Linked DNA regions of Homo sapiens: region 2 is linked to region 1. Evidence: promoter capture Hi-C in human tissues and cell types (Jung and others, 2019). All regions are on one chromosome and are shown on one strand. Each heading gives the region's core, a stretch centred on a gene start or on the middle of the fragment in contact. The rest is flanking DNA. Distances are from core to core; before and after follow the strand shown. Region 1 holds the start of UBE2E2 (ubiquitin conjugating enzyme E2 E2). Region 2 overlaps LOC107986011 (a long non-coding RNA gene).

Evidence for each region. The method cuts DNA at HindIII sites, captures the fragments that hold promoters and counts their contacts. A contact is called where the count stands out against the background at its distance.
Region 2: a fragment that was not itself captured here is called in contact with the fragment with the promoter of UBE2E2 in region 1 in 1 of the 25 tissues and cell types used here (dorsolateral prefrontal cortex).

The regions. Positions count from the first base shown.
Region 1 is chr3:23,201,542-23,204,761 of GRCh38, reverse strand. UBE2E2 (ubiquitin conjugating enzyme E2 E2) reads right to left here and starts at 1,435. Exons shown (of 6, transcript NM_152653.4): 1 at 1,298-1,435. It overlaps UBE2E2-DT (UBE2E2 divergent transcript), which reads left to right and starts at 1,769. Exons shown (of 2, transcript NR_136176.1): 1 at 1,769-1,898. RefSeq lists a silencer at 1,275-1,964 and enhancers at 2,315-2,374, 1,787-2,762. The HindIII fragment of the contact is 11,420 bases long and covers 1-3,220 here.
Region 2 is chr3:24,516,529-24,519,748 of GRCh38, reverse strand. All of the region lies in intron 1 of LOC107986011 (a long non-coding RNA gene), which reads left to right. Among named protein-coding and RNA genes, the nearest start is that of THRB, 23 kb to the right of the region's middle. RefSeq lists an enhancer at 1-574. The HindIII fragment of the contact is 4,974 bases long and covers 1-3,220 here.

The sequences.
Region 1 (3,220 bases), core at 186-2,685:
CCAGCTTTAAATTTAACTGCAAAGACATTTATGCAGAAAATAACAGTGGAACACCTGATTTGGGGGTAAAAGGTGCTGCAGGGGAAAGAGAATGGGGTATGGCATTATATGAAAACACTCTATTTCAGCGTCAGCCCACATACAGAATTCCAAAGAGCCAAGGAGCATCCAAATTGCCGTAGTAAAGGCAAATATTTAGATTCACAAAGTCCAGACTGAATTATCACATATCTAGAAACATACTTTTTAAAGAAATCAGGGATTAAAAACTAAGAAGAGCGTAAAATCCTTTAGAACCGCGAGATACTTTGAGGGTAAACCCTAGCACTTCCTTTCGTACTTTTAAATAAAAATATTTTAGTAGACTCTCAAGAATACACAATACAAAACGATGAATCTTGAAAACATGCAAATGGGTCTAACAGCCACCGAGCACAGGATGATGTCTTTCTAAAGCAGCCTTAATTTCCTTAAGGGAAGATGGATTGGACATTTCTGGTTGGTCGTGGGGGAAAAAAGCCACAAGAAGCCACGCTTTATCTTCATTAGAAATGGTAAAGGGCAAAAAGATCAAAACATTATGAGAGAGATCGGAGAAAAGAGGGGGAGAAGTGGGGTGGGCGGGAAGGGGGAGAGGACAGAGGGAATCCAGTTTCAAACCAGGCCAGTGGGGGCTGCAGAGAAGAGACCAGAGAAAAATGGGCTTCGGTTCCAAACTGTGACAAGCGCCAGGCATCACAAAAGACCAATACAACACACACCCCTCACCAGGACACACACAAATATACCCCACAAGGTCTTCTCCGGGCGGGCCACCGGGGTGCGGCGGCGAAGGAGCCAAACCCGGCACTCGCCAGGAGACACACCATGTGCAGCAATTATGCAATTAGGGAAAATAGCAAAAGATCAAGCCGGGCACTTTCCACCGTGACATTTATCCTGTACTTTTGAAAAGACTTAGTTCCAGGATGCGGCTAGGAGAAGGAAAGCGCTGGGAGGGTTGAGAAGGATGGGGAACTGAGAACGGAAGGGGGTAGAAGGAGGACAGGGAGAGAAGAGGCAGAAGGGGGGGATGGGAAGAAGGGGGAGGGGTAGAAAGGGCGAGAAACGGGGGCAGGAGGCTCGCGGGAGGGGGCGTAGGGAACCGGGCACGGGGAGCGAGGAAGGAGGGAACTAGGGCACGAGCGGTGTAAGCAGAGACCTGCGACGCGGAGGGGAGGTCGGGGGAGTGAGGAGGACGTCAGCGAGAGGGAGGACGCCCGAGGAGGGGAGGCACCGGCGCGGCCCGAGCGAATACCTGAGGGGGGGGTGTCCGTGCAGGTCGCAGGCTCGAGCCGAAGCCCTGGGAGAGAGCTGCCCAGGCGCGAGGGGGAGGGAGACTGGGGAGGCCCCAGGGACGGGATGTCCCCTGCGGACCGTCTAGTCACCGAAAGCCGGACCCACGCACCACGCACCCGACCACGCCTGTCCCCGCCGCGCTCGCGCCCGCCCGGACTCACCCTCAGCGCCGCCGCTGCCGCCGCCCCCGGCCGTTCCAGCTCCGGCTCCTGAGGCTGCTGCCCGCGGCTGTCGCTGTGGCTGCCCCTGAGTCCTGGAAAGTGAAGCCACCACCTCCGGGAGCCGCCGCCGCCCGGCCGTCCGCGCGCGCACCCGCGAGTGCGCGTGCCTGCGCGCCCGCCCGGGAGAGACCGCGAGAGCGCGAGCCCCACGTCGGCCATGCGGCGCCGCGCGCCTCCCTCCTCCCCCCGCCCCTCCTCCTCCGGCGCGCGGCCGCGAGGGGGCGGGGGCGGGAGCGCGCCCGGGCGGGCTGCCCCGCCGGTCGGGAGAGGGGGTGGGGAGGCGGCGAGGAAAAGTAAAGTGACAGCTGGGTCCCGCGCGCAGACTGGGCTCTGACGGGGGTGAGCGAGGGGCGTCCCACGGGGAAGGAACGACAAGGACGGGGAGAAGTGGGGGAAACCGAGGCTGACGGGGTGGCTTGAGGGGAGGGGACGCGAGGACCTTGCCGGGCACGCGCATTAAAGGGAAACGCCGGCTGGGGGTTAGGGGTTACCCCAAGACGGTGCAGGCAGTGGGACGAGGAGGCCTTTTACCCCCATCCACCGCAGCCCTTGACTTCACGCTCGCCTCGAAGCTTTCGCAAAGTAGATACGGGGACTGACCCTGTTGACACACTAACCCAAACTCGCAGACGCGTGGGGCTCGCATGTACCCAAGACAGGAAAACTTCACGTTGGCCTGGAAACTTCTTCCAGGCTAAGCCTGAGTCTTCACCAGACACTGCAGCACGAAGGCCCTTCTGCCTTTTGGCTCGCCCTGGCCCAGAATGCGCACCAGCCGGTAGAGAGGAGCTTCGGGCCGTTTAGCCCTGGGGTATTGAAGAGAGGGGTGGGGGTACAGGGTGCACCACTGTCAGAGTGAGTGGGAAGCTGCCTTCATGCCCAGTTGAAGGATATGGGAACAGTAGCAGTGCTGTAGGTGGCATGAGGGAACATTAGGTTCCGTTGTACTCCTCATCCCAAATAACCGTTTAAAAAAAAAAAAAAAACGTACCTGCTTTGCGAACTTAGCTTCCACGAAATTTCTCCCACTCCAACCTCCAGCCTCACTTACCAACGGAATGCTGGGTCGTTGGCAACGGGGTGTCCAGGGATGCAGCAAAATTAACTTCTATCTTTGTGGAGGAAAGGATTGGAAGATCTTTCACTGCTTAATTGCTGAAATTATGGTTGCTACAGTACTTCATTTGACTGTAGATGTTTTAACTGCTATTTACTAAGTTCAAAATGGGTTTAATACAAATCAGTTACCCTTTTCATTTATTCAAGGAATATTTATTGATACCAGGCACTGTCTAGGTGGTAGATATATGACATTGAATAAAAGAAAAAAATCCTTGTCCTCAGAACTTCCCTATGTCTGAACCTTCTCTGTTGTACACTCAGCATCACATTCGTCAGCAAATTCTGTTGACTCTGTTTTCACAAATATATGGTGAAAATGTCCACTCCGTCTCACTCCCCTCCCCACTGCTAATGTCCTGGTCTAAGGCATCATCTCTCAATAATTATCTCCTACCTGATCTTTCTACCTCCCACTCTCCGCCTCCTCCCTCCCCAACACCTACACACAGCCGACTGTCCTTTAAAACAAAGATTAGATTATGTCTCTCTTCTTCTCAAAAATTCCAGTGGCTTCCCATCATAGAGCAACAGCCAAAGTG
Region 2 (3,220 bases), core at 529-3,028, 1.3 Mb before region 1:
TAGTTAACAGTCGGGGAAGTCCAGACGCAAACCCAGAATTGTCTCACTTTGAAACCCGGTCTCAGGTCAGGTTTCCTAGAAGCAGAACCTGTGACCAAGATTCATGCTGAGGCGATTTTCGTCAGGAGTGCTTTTAGGAGAAGAGTAAGGGGAGCAGAATTGGGCAGGCGAGAAGGTGAGCAAGACTGTCATCCCTACTGGAGACTGGCTTTAGTCTGTCCCACTAGGAACATGAACTACATCACAGAGTTAGTTTCACTTTGAAGCAAAGGGGGAGGCTTTTGTAGCTATTGTCATGCAGCCCTGGCAGTTCTCCAGAGAAGGGAACATCTTCGAGTCCTTAGCAACCAACACACCACAGAAGGCGAGGGAAGTACCAGATCAGTGAAGGGGCTCCAGCGGGAACCAACAGCACCCGCTGTGCCCAGTCTCAGCTTGTCTTTGCCCCAGGTTCCCTTGGGATACCCAGGATGCCCAGATCACTCCCTGCTCCAATCACTGCAGTCTTCCCACCTATCTGGGTTCGTGAACTTCTCCTACACCAGGGGTTCTGTAGGAAGGGTTTGTTAAAACTCAGATTGCTGGGCCCCACCCCCGGAATTTACAATTTAATAGGGCTGAGTGGGATCTGATGATTTTCATTTCCAACAACCAGGTGATACCTTGCTGCTTGTCTGGGGTGCACTCTTTGAGATCCACTGTTCTGCAGCATCATTTTAGGGCATTACACCTCTGACATCTAAGCCAGACTAATCTGTCAATGATCCCTTATTTTAACTAGGTTATCTGGACAATATGCTTCCCCAAATAGTTACTCTTCTGGTGGTAATATGAGACTCGGTGGCAGATAACTTGGATACGAAAGTCTTCATGGCACCCTCTTGGTGATGCCAGTGATTCAATCCAACCAAAAAGAAAACTGGGAACTCTAAGCGTTAAAGGAAAGGCTTGAGGCAAAATACTGAATTAGCCGAAATTTCACCATCACGTCCTGAGACTCTTATTCTACCTTATGTGTCTCCTTTTTCTAGATTCCACTCTTGGGCCCAGAACATTTTATGCTGAAACTGTCTCATACCTGTTCACAAGTGATTTGAGCCCATCTCCTCCAAATGGACATTAAAATCAGCCAAGGTGCAAATATTTACAGCATGAGAATCAGCAAATTCTAAAAAACAGGAATCTTTATTTCCAGAGAGCTAGTTACTAAACTTTTACCACGTACCACTGCATCACCAGATCCTTAAAAGCCGTTTGAAAAAAGATTAACAAACTCACACCAATGTATAGTTGACAATAAAATTTAATACTTCTGTGTGCCAAGCACATACCTATTATGTGCCAGCACTATGCTGAGTGCTTTCTCATGTTTTTCTTTTATTTTCACAATAACCTACTGAGGTGTTTTTATCCTAAGAGAAAAATGAGACTCTCAGAAGTTACCTGACTTTCCCAAGTTCACACAACCAGTTATTGAGGCTACACCAGCTTTCCAAGCCACATTGACTAATGCCAAAAATCTAGGTTCTTTCTACTGCTGCATTCCTACTTACTTGTAGTTTGAGAGACTAAGGAGACTAAGTCTTAAACCAAAGAAATGATTTTTTTTAATGCAGCAGTTCACAAATGCTTCGGTCTCAAGACCCTTTCATACTCTCAAAAAGTATTGAAGACCCCAAAGAGCTTTGATTCTGAGGATTATAAATAGGATATATAAATAGCATCAATAAATAGGATATTATAAATAGCAGCAATAGTATTAGAATGGAAAATGAGTAATGTTTAAAATATTTTTACTAATCATTTAAAAGTAGCAATGATAAATCCTTATGTGTTAATGTAAAGAACATGTTTTTTAAAAAACAACTATATTTTCCAAAATAAGAAACTATTTAGTGAACAAAAGGCATTATTTTACATTTTTGCAAAAGGTTTAAATGTCATTTCTTGCTAATAGAACATCACAGACTGGGTAACTTTAAAAGAAAATAAATTTATTTCGCTCATAGTTCTAGAGGCTGGGAAGTCCAGGATCAAGGGGCTGTATCTGTAGGGCCTTCTTGCTACATCGTAACATGACCGAAGGACAAGGAAGCACGTGAGGCAGAGAGAAAAATGGAAACCAAACTTCATCCTTTTACCAGGAGCCCACTCCTGAGATAAATATCCAACTCCTGCAATAAGGGTATTAATCTACTACTTAAAGGCCCCATGTCCCAATTAATTTATCCAATTAAATTTCAACATGATTTTTGGAGTGAGCATTCAAACCATAGCGTTTAGTTTAATAGTACAGCTGGAGTCCCGTAACTGCTTCTGCATTCAATCTGCTGTAGTATGTTGTTTGAGTTGAAGTATGTGAAGAAAATATGACCATATCCAGCTTGGAAAGGCAGGATCTCATGGACCCCCAGAAATGGTCTTGTAATCACTTTGATGACTGCTGATCTAATTATTAGATGTCAGGCTCAGGACAGTGATGGGAAGACAGTAGGCTTCAAACTTTAGTCCATCCAATCTTAGGAGTTAAGATTATTTAGAATTTGACTAAGCTAATGAGCTAAATGGCTATTTTATAAGGTAAACATAAGAGTTCTCACTCTCTCTCTCTCTCCTCCCTTTCTCTCTTTCCTCCTCTCTTTCTGTCTTTTAAAACCCAGTCACTGCCCACCGATTTTCCAAATCCCAACAATGGCATTTGCAATACCATTTATTCATTCAGCAAATGTTTATTAAGCATCTAATATGTATCAGACACCATACTAGACACTAAGGATATAAAAGTATGTAAAACATCCATAATGACTGCCTCTTTGGGGCTTACAGTTTACTGGGAGAGACAGGCTATGACACATACAGAAATGTGCAGTGCTATAAGAAGATAGTGAGAGATTTTCTGCAGGAGGAAGTCTTTCCTGAGGAAGTGCTAAGGGGAGGCCTGAGGATTCCTAGAAGTGAATTCAGAAGAGGTGGGAAGGAAATGGGGAGCTCATATGGTAAGACTAAAAATGATGAGAAATAAGACCCATAGCCTATGTCAAGGATTTGGCTCCTAAAAAAAACAAAAATCAAGTTTTTAGTGGAAAAGGATGTGATGTGATGAGACCATTTAGAAGGCTTTTGAGTAGCCTAGGCAACACAAGGTCTAGAGAAGCTTCAGCTCACATGGGTGGAGGGAGATTAAGACAAGTGCACAGATTTGAGAGATGTCAGAAGGTAA